Regions from separate parts of the Homo sapiens genome. Here all the other regions are linked to region 1. The links are contacts of gene promoters, found by promoter capture Hi-C in blood cells and fetal thymus (Javierre and others, 2016). All regions are on one chromosome and are shown on one strand. The core of a region is centred on a gene start or on the middle of the fragment in contact, and the rest is flanking DNA. Distances in the headings are between cores, read along the strand shown.

Region 1 (3,034 bases), core at 143-2,642:
AGTCTCGCACTCTCATCCAGGTTGGAGTGCAATAGCGTGATCTTGGCTCACTGCAACCTCTGCCTCCCGGGTTCAAATGATTCTCCGGCCTCAGCCTCCCGAGTAGCTGGGATTACAGGCGCCCGCCACCACACCCAGCTAATATTTGTATTTTTAGTAGAGATGGGGTTTCACCATGTTGGCCAGGATGGTCTCGAACTCCTGACCTCGTGATCTGCCCACCTCGGCCTCCCAAAGTGCTGGGATTACAGGCGTGAACCACCGCGCCCAAACTCTTCTCACCTTAAACATCACTGACAAAATTACAAACTCTAATGGCACTGCCGTATTTGTCAGCACTCAACACAAAAAAATCATAATTATATATTTCATAGGTAATTATTTGCTTCCTGTCTCTCTTTTCCAACAAAGCTGTGAGTTCCAGTATGTCTGACACCATGTCTGTCTTGTTCTTGGTGTATTTCCACCATCGAATTCCTACTAACCACTGCAAAGTAAAGGCCTGGCACAAAGTAAGGTCTCAAAAAATTTTGTTGAATGAAAGAATAAATGGTGGACATTCAAGCCTCAAGCTTTCTCTTTCTCTGACACGTACCTCTGCTGGCTACGCCCCCATCCCCACCACCACACCCTTAACAGTGGAGACTTAGTGCGGTACTGGCTCTGCAAAGAGATATTACTTGGCTCTGGGTGGGTTATTTCCCCTCGTCATCCTGAGTTTCAGGTGCACAACAGGGATCACACCAACCCCCTAAAGAATGCAACCTACAAAAGAGAGAGAACCTACACCTCTCATCCTCGTAACCCATCGAGGCTGGAGCTACTATTTGCTTCATGTCTGTCTTTCCAGCAGCGTTTAGCTCCAAGAAGCCCAAGGCCTCGTCTGTCTGGCTCAGGGGCCTGCTCCCATCGACGATACCCAGGCTGGCCCCCTGCCTGGCTCACAGCAAAAGCTCAGAAACGATTCGTTAAATAAATGAAGCCCTGCTCCGTGCACTTCACAGGTGGGAAGCGAGGGTCGTGCGAGGCGGGGGCTGCATCCCTGCCAGCCTTGAGCGTATTCTTCAGATGCAGGCCCACCTCCCACCTAGGCCCGCGCCCCAGATGCCGGCCCCGAACCCCGCGCCCGACAGGCACCTCTTGCACAGGGAAGCATCTTCGCAGGTGCCGCGCACGCCCTCGTCGTCTGCGTCGCAGCTCGAGGTGGAACAGCAGGAGGTGATAGAGGATTCCCTCTGCCTAGTGGCCATGGGCGTGGAGGTTCCTGGGAGCTGTGTCCGCCAGGGACATGGAAGCGGGGTCGACGGGCGGCGGGGGACGGCGCGAGCCACAGGGAGAAAGCAACAGAAGAGGGTAGGGCCCTACCTGGCTCAGCTGGCGCGGCTCAGTGACGCCGCCCACGCCGGCTACCCCAGCAACCTCTCCGCTTATTGGCTCCTCTTCCGAGTCGCTCATTGAGCAATTCTCCTGCCCGCTCAGCCTACGAAGTTGCTCATTGGATAATTATTTTGGCACCGCCCACATAACCCGGAAATTTGACGATAGGAAAAAGAAACTAAACAGTAGGAGAGTATCGCAATCCTTTCTGGGAAGCGTAGTCTTAGGTGTCTGGAGAAGTCGCCCGGTTTCTGCTTGCTGGTCGCGAAATTTTATAGCTATAATTAACTCAGGGCGGAACAGCTAGCAGAATCCTCAGCGTTCGGGCAAAGGGCAGAGAATCCAGCCAGAAGCAACATGTGTAAGTTGTTACATTCAGTCCGGGCTCAGTGTCATTCAATTTTACAAAATTTTGTTGTGTGCTGACTCTGCCAGCGACTGTGCTGAGGGCTTTGCCCCCAAAATTGCCTTCGAAATGTAGTGAGGGGGGCGGGCGTAGTGGCTCACTCCTGTAATCCCACCACTGTGGGAAGCCGAGGCGGGCCGATCACCTGAGGTCAGGAGTTCGAGACCAGCCTGGCCAACATGGTGAAACACCGTTGTTACTAAAAGTACAAAAATTAGCCGGGCGTGGTGGCGGCCGCCTTAGTCCTGGCTACTCAGGAGGCTGAGGCAGGAGAATCGCTTGAACCCGGGAGGCGGAGGTTGCAGTAAGCCCATGTGGCGCCACTGCATTCCGTCCTGAGCGACAGAGCGAGACTCCGTCTCAAAAAAATAAATAAACAAATAAATAAAAGAAAGAAAGAAAAGAAATGTAGTGAGGGAAGTAGTGTGTGGAAAAGTAATACAATAGGAAGCCATGTAGCAGCGATCATAAATGAACTAGAGCTACCAGGTAGCAGCATCAATGGCTGAATCTCAGAAACACGATGTTCAGTGAAAGAAGGAAGTCTAACAACACTTTTGTAAAGTTCAAACCAAGTAAAACTAATGTTGTTTAGAGAAACGTACATATATGGTAAAATACTGTACAGAGAAGGCAAGACATGAGAAAAAAAAATAAAAAAGAATCAGGATATTGGTGATCTTTAGGGAGCCGGGAGGGTAGCACACAAGAGGGGGAGGGAGAGGCAGGGAAGGAGCACATAGACACATCCTCAGTTTCTCACGTGGGAGTGGGTTCACGTGTGTCTGTTTCATTATGAGGCATATTCAAGATGTTTTGGATTTATTTTGTACTAAATCTAGTACAAAATATATGTATAAATTCAAGATGTACTGGGGAAGTCGCCTGGTTTCTTGCTGGTGATGAAATTTTATAGCTATAATTAACTCAGGGCAGAACAACTAGCAGAATCCTCAGTGTTCGGGCGATTGGCAGAGAATCCAGCCAGAAGCAACCCTTGTAAGTTGTATATGTATAATAATGTTTAATATACATTATAAATTAAAAATGTCTTTGTATATTCCATTTTGTTATCTGTCAGTTGTTGGAAGCAGGAAACAGATATACTTTAAGAACTTTGAATTGCACTCATTTTTTTAAAAAGAAAATCAACAACAGAAACCCAGAATACACACCTTGGAGTGAGGTCAAATATCAAATGCTAGCTCAGTATTCTAATGGAGGCACAAGATCTCATTGATAGCCACAGTA
Region 2 (3,143 bases), core at 1-2,500, 2.3 Mb before region 1:
CCTCCTGGCTTTGAATGTCCCGCACCTGGTCTTCTGCCTTCACTGAGCAGAGACGTCATTCCTGCGGCAAGTCCTAAGTTCCCGCTCCCCAGGGCTCCTCCACCAGGAATGTTCTTCCTTTCCCATCCTTCAAGGCTCAGCCTCCACTGACCTCCCCACCCTCCTCTCCTCCACATGCACAGGGAACTGGGTTGGCCTCTTACCATCCGACCCGTTCCCCGTGCTTCATGAGAAAGATGCAGCGACAGCTCATGGGGTCACCTGGCTTGACTGCCCGACCTGCTACGTCCCAGTTGAGTCACCGAGGGAAAATCACTCTACCTCTCGCAGCCTCATTGCCTCATCTGCGAAATGGGCACACCAGCCATTGTTTTGAATGACTGGGTGGAATCAAGGTGGTAAGACATAGAAACTGACACAGAATGGGTCCCATCAGGCTCTACACCCATGCCCGTCACCTCCCGACTCAGCCGCCCAGAATCGGGTGATTGACATGTTATGTTTGGCTTGAAACTGGCTTTCCTTCCCCAGCCCGCTACATTTTGGAGGCTGGTTTTCAAGATAGAGGGTCGTCTCAGCCACATCCCTGCTGCTGGGCCCCTAAGCTGTGCTGAACAAGAGACCCCAACCTCATTTCTGCCCAGCCTCACTGCATGAATCTTCTTTGCCTCAGTGTCCCCAATTGTGACTTGGGCACAGTCCTCCGAGCCCTCCCACTGTGACACTAGATGCAGCAGGCAGGGAACAGTCCCTCCTGGGCAGAGAAGGCACCCTGGTCCCAGCAGAAAACCAGGGCTGGAATTACCTTCTGTTTCGGCTTCTTTCTCAGAAATCCATTCCGTGTGCTGGGGGCAGTCTGATGGGCTTCTGGGGGTGGCAGCTGGGTTCAGCGTGGGGGTGACAGATGAGGGTCTGAGAAAGCAGGCAGAGGCCTGGGGTGAGAATCCACACCCAGCCCGAGTCACCAATCAGGCTGTCATAAGACCTGTCACTCTGATGACGGGCAGCTGGGCCTCCAGGCAGGTGTCCCACAGAGCAGCAGACAGAGGAAAGAGACGGCAAGGAAGGTACCAGGCGGCCGCAGCAGGGATGCACGGGCCGCAGACAGACAGACACAGCTGCGTGGCTGTCAGCCACACTCAGGGAGAGGCAGGCAGAGGGCCAGACGCCGAGCTTACGGTCACTCAGCAGAGAGACGCCAGTGGGTCTGTCTGAGGCCGCTGGCTGCCACCCAGCCGCATGTGCAGAGTGGGGAGGAAGAGGAGGATGTGGTGAGCCGCTCCCCGCCAGCCCCGCCCACCCGCAGCTGGGCTCCTCCTGGGAGGGAGTGAGAAAGAGGTGGGAGGGGGCCTGGCCCCACAGCAGGCACCCACTGTCACCAAAGGTCACCTGCAAGTAAGACATTTGGGGCCATCGGGGTGACACTTCCCTCTTAGGGACCTGTGACATCATCCCCACAGGCCTCTCAGTCATAACCCATGAGGCAGGCAGTGCCTCCTGGAGCCACCACATTGCACAGATATGGAAACTGAGGCCAGAGGTGTGAAGATGTGGCACAGTTTCACCCGTGGACCCAGAGTCCTCAGTGGCCGACTCCAGCCCCTCAGCACAGAGAGAAGGACCAGAACCTTGCCCAAGGTCCCACGGAAGCCCCTTTTTCAGACTTTGCAAACCAGCCTGTTTCTTATTCCTGAGCCTTACCTGCCTAATAGGGTCTGAGCTTGGGACCCTCTGCTCTGGCTTGACCCCCATGCCTCTCTGCCTCCATTTCCTTTGGATCCAGTCTCCTGCTGCAGAGCTCCAGGGAGCAGGACCCCTTGGGCACGTCACATCACCTCTCTGAATGCCTCACTTTGCCCATCTGTCAAATGGGGGCACCTAGCTATGAGGAAGAGGGCAGACATTAACACATGAGAATTCAAGAAGAAAATAGAGAAAAGAAATTCTCAAGAGAGTTTTCATCTTGCTAACATGCCAGAGGCCCATGAGAGGGTCAGATGTTTCTGGAAGACATTCAAGAAACCAGGAGACAAAATGTAACAAGCTTAATGCCTAGTGCAGTCTCCAAAGGAGAGCAAGAGAATTGCTACCACCACCACCGCTACCACCACCACCACTACCACTGCCATCACCACCACCTCGAATTACTTTGGTGCCTACATGATCTCACTTTATCCCACAAAGTGTGAGGCAGACAAGATTAGTCCCATTTTACAGATGGAGAGACTGAGGCCCAGAGGAGTGAAACGTCACACAAGCCAAGAAGAATTAGAGCTGGGATTTGAACCTGGGTGTGTTTGATTCCTAAGCTTATACCAGGCTGTGAAAACGGGGCCATACCAGGATGAAATGTCCCACAGTTGGGGGAGGCTATTTTATGCTGTTTTGATAACAAGATGCAATTTGTAGCTCTCCCTGCTGACTCATTTTTGGGAATCAACTTGCTGTTGACTTTCGTGACCACTCCAGAGAAAAAAGAGAAAGCGTCTTGCTATTCTTTCTTTCTTTTTTTTTCTAGCTGTTTTTGAGGAACTTGGTACAAATTCCCCTGTGGTTGATTTGAGGGATCCTGGCCCTGTAGAGCTCTTCCCAGCTACCGAAGTGTGTCGTGTTCTCTGGAGAACGAACCTTGGGAAGACACCAGCTTTTGTTTTTCTTTCTCTTGATCTTCGGGGTGAATTCTCTGATAACATGCACTGAAATTTGTAGTGGTTGAAAGATCAGGAGAAGAGACAGTAAAAAGAGCTAATATTTGCTGAAAGCTCATTGTGTGCCAGGGTTTTAAGGACTTTAAAGATGCACCCTCTCATTTAAACCTCAGAAATACTCGAGAAGGCTGTGTGCAGCGGTGCACACCTATAATTCCATCATTTTGGGAGGCTGAGGTGGGAGGATCGATTGAGGCTAGGAGTTCAAGACCAGTCTGGGCAACATAGCAAGACCCTGTCTCTATAAAAAAATTTAAAAATTAGACAGTCATGGTGGTGCACGCCTGTAGTCCCAGCTACTCTGGAGGCTGAGGTGGGAGGACCACTTGAGCCAAGGAGCTGAAGGCTGCAGTGAGCTATGACTGTAGTGCTGCACTCAAGCCTGGGCAACAGAGCAAGACTCTGTCTTCAAAAATAAAATCCCCAAAATGAAAA
Region 3 (2,998 bases), core at 241-2,740, 2.4 Mb before region 1:
AGTCTCACTCTGTTGCCCAGGCTGCAATACAGTGGCATGATCTTGGCTCACTGCAACCTCTGCCTCCTGGGTTCAAGCGATTCTCTTGCCTCAGCCTCCCCCAAGTAGCTGGGACCACAGTTATGTGCCACCATGCCCAGCTAATTTTTGTATTTTTAGTAGAGACAGGGTTTCACCATGTTGGCCAGGCTAGTCTCAAACTCCCGACCTCAGGTGATCGCCCACCTTGGCCTCTCAAAGTGCTGGGATTACAGGCGTGAGCCACCCCATCTGGCTGTGTTGACATTTGTACTTATGACACAAAGCAATGGTGGGTAAAACTGCTTGCAGTCTGAATCAAGGCAATGTTACCACAATGTACTAGAAACCTTCCCTCCTTCCTTCCTCCCTCCCTTCTTCCATCCCTCCCTTCTTTCCTCCTTCCTTTCTCTCTCCTCTCCCTCCCTTCTTTCCTTCCTTCCTTTCTCTCTCCTCTCTCCCCCCACCCCACCCCCTGCTCTCTCTCTCTCTAGACAAGGTCTTTTTGCCCAGGCTGGAGTGCAGTGGCACAGTCATGGCTCACTGTAGCCTCAACCTCCTAAGCTCAACTGATCCTGAGTGGCTGGGACTACAGGCACGAGCCACTATACCTGTCTAATTTTTTACTTTTTACAGAGATGGGGTCTCACTAAGTTGCCCAGGCTGGTCTTGACCTCCTGGGCTCAAGTGATCCCCACACCTCAGTCTCCTTAGCAGCTAGAACCACAGGTGCATGCTACCATGCCTGACTATTATTTATTTATTTATTTATTTTATTTATTTATTTAGTAGAGATGGAGTCTCACTATGTTGACGAAGCTGGTCTTGAATTTCTGGGCTGAAGAGATCCTCTTGTCTTGGCCTCCCAAAGCGGTGGGACTATAGGCGTGAGCCACTGAACCCAACCATCAGGACATTCTTAAATAAAAATAATTGTTTGTTTGTTTTAAATGTGAGTACATGGCAGTAAATAAAATAATAGACAAATTTTGGTTATTCAGTCTTGGGAATTTGGCAGAAATTTTCTCAAATATGAAATAAGTGAGTCTGTCACTTCAAGGAAACAGCTGACAATATTTGCTGCCAATGTTAAAATTCAAGCTGTCAAGTGAAAACAAGTTGAAAACTTGTTTCCATTACCTTGAGTTTGATAGTTTCCTAATACTTAAACTCCTTTTTAAAATGAAATAGGTGGTGATATTAACAAATGTGATTTTTTAAATACCGTATAATGGCATCTGAAAGGTCAACGTTTAGATTTGCATAACTCACTGAACCAACATTTTCTAAACGACCAATGGCTGATGTTATAAAACCATATATGGGTAAAGCAGCCAATGAAAGGGCAAGATAGACCAATGGATTTTAATGTAACACAGTATAAAAGTTCACCTATAAGGCTTCAGATGACACACTGTGACTAACATTTAAGAAACTGCCACTTGTGGCCTGGCATGGTTCTTCATGCCTGTAATCCCAGCACTTTGGGAGGCCAAGGCGGGCGGATCACCTGAGGTTGGCAGTTTGAGACCAGCCTGACCAACATAGAGAAACCCCATCTCTACTAAAAGTACAAAATTAGCTGAGCGTGGTGGCACATGCCTGTAATCCCAGCTACTTGGGAGGCTGAGGCAGGAGAATCGCTTGAACCCGGGAGGCGGAGGTTGCGGTGAGCCGAGATCAGGCCATTGCACTCCAGCCTGGGCAACGACGGCAAAACTCCCGTCTCAAAAAAAAAAAAAAAAAAAAAAAACTGCCACTTGCAGGCCAGGCATGGTGGCTCACGTCTGTAATCCCAGCACTTTGGGAAATGGAGGCAGGCTGATCACCTGAGGTCAGGAGTTTGCGACCAGCTGGCCAACATGGGGAAACCCCATGTCTACTAAAAATAAAAAAAATTAGCTGGGCATGGTGGTTCACACCTGTGATCCCAGCTACTCGGGAGGTTGAGGCAGGAGAATCGCTTGAACCCAGCAGGCAGAGGTTGCAGTGAGCTGAGATCGTGCCACTGCACTCCAGCCTGGGCGACAGTGAGACTTTTTCTCAAAAAAAAAAAAAAAAAGAAAAAAGAAACTGGCATTTGCTAAATTTTGTATAGTATGAAAGGAGAGTGTCTACAGTTATCTGAAAAGGCAATTAAAATGTTTCTCTCTGCTCCAATTATATATTTGTATGAGGCCAAATTTTCTTCATACACACCAGCCAAAACAGCATAACAAAAAACAGTTTGAATCCTGAAGCAGAAATGAGAGTAGTTTTTTCTATTTCTATTGAATAAACTTGAAAAAACATAAAATAATGCTACTCTTCCTATTAATTTTTTGGAGGCAAATGTAATTGTTTTCCATTAAAAATATTATTTATGTTCAGAAGTAATGGGTTTATTGTTGTTGGAGTTTTTTTGAGACAGGGTCTAGCTATGTTGCCCAGGCTGGTCTTGAACTCCTGAGCTCAAGCAATCCACCCACTTCAGCCTCCCAAACTGCTGGGATCACAGGTGTGAGGCACTGCACATGGCCAATTATTATTATGATTATTATGAGCCACTGCACCTGGCCAATTATTATTATTATTATTGGGTTTTTTTGAGACAGAGTCTCGCCCTGTTGCCCAGGCTGGAGTGCAGTGGCAAGATCTCGGCTTCAAATGATTCTCCTGCCTCAGCCTTCCAAGTAGCTGGGATTACAGACATGTGTCACCACGTCCGGCTAAGTTTTAGTAGAGACAAGGTTTCACCATGTTGGCCAGGCTGGTCTCGAACTCCTGACCTCAAGTGATCCACCTGCCTTGGCCTTCCAGAGTGCTAGGATTACAGGCACGAGTCCATGCCCGGCCCAATTTTTATTATTTTTAAAGGAACTAATTAATGGACATCTTAAGATTTTCCCAGTTTAAATCTTCGATATGGTAAATATCATAAATATAAATAAACAAAGCTCTTTGAGGTAAGAGCATACAGGGGTCCCAAGGCTTAAAAGGT

The links. Contacts are between HindIII fragments. The CHiCAGO score rates a contact against its expected background, and 5 or more counts as called.
Region 2: the fragment with the promoter of IL21R here is called in contact with the fragment with the promoter of LCMT1 in region 1 in 2 of 17 cell types (M0 macrophages and non-activated CD4 T cells); the score reaches 6.9 in M0 macrophages.
Region 3: a contact is called between a fragment that was not itself captured here and the fragment with the promoter of LCMT1 in region 1, in 1 of 17 cell types (naive CD8 T cells). The highest score is 5.9, in naive CD8 T cells.

Annotation. Positions count from the first base shown.
Region 1 is chr16:25,110,100-25,113,133 of GRCh38, reverse strand. LCMT1 (leucine carboxyl methyltransferase 1) reads right to left here and starts at 1,392. Exons shown (of 11, transcript NM_016309.3): 1 at 1,138-1,392. The coding sequence starts at 1,250. LCMT1-AS1 (LCMT1 antisense RNA 1) reads left to right here and starts at 1,579. Exons shown (of 3, transcript NR_120306.1): 1 at 1,579-1,738. RefSeq lists enhancers at 1,085-1,244, 1,335-1,664, 1,442-1,969. The HindIII fragment of the contact is 2,890 bases long and covers 575-3,034 here.
Region 2 is chr16:27,400,281-27,403,423 of GRCh38, reverse strand. It overlaps IL21R (interleukin 21 receptor), which reads right to left and starts at 1,250. Exons shown (of 9, transcript NM_181078.3): 1 at 806-1,250. RefSeq lists enhancers at 619-738, 631-1,173. The HindIII fragment of the contact is 2,346 bases long and covers 1-2,046 here.
Region 3 is chr16:27,551,460-27,554,457 of GRCh38, reverse strand. The region is part of intron 1 of KATNIP (katanin interacting protein); the gene reads right to left. Among named protein-coding and RNA genes, the nearest start is that of KATNIP, 2.8 kb to the right of the region's middle. The HindIII fragment of the contact is 4,528 bases long and covers 1-2,998 here.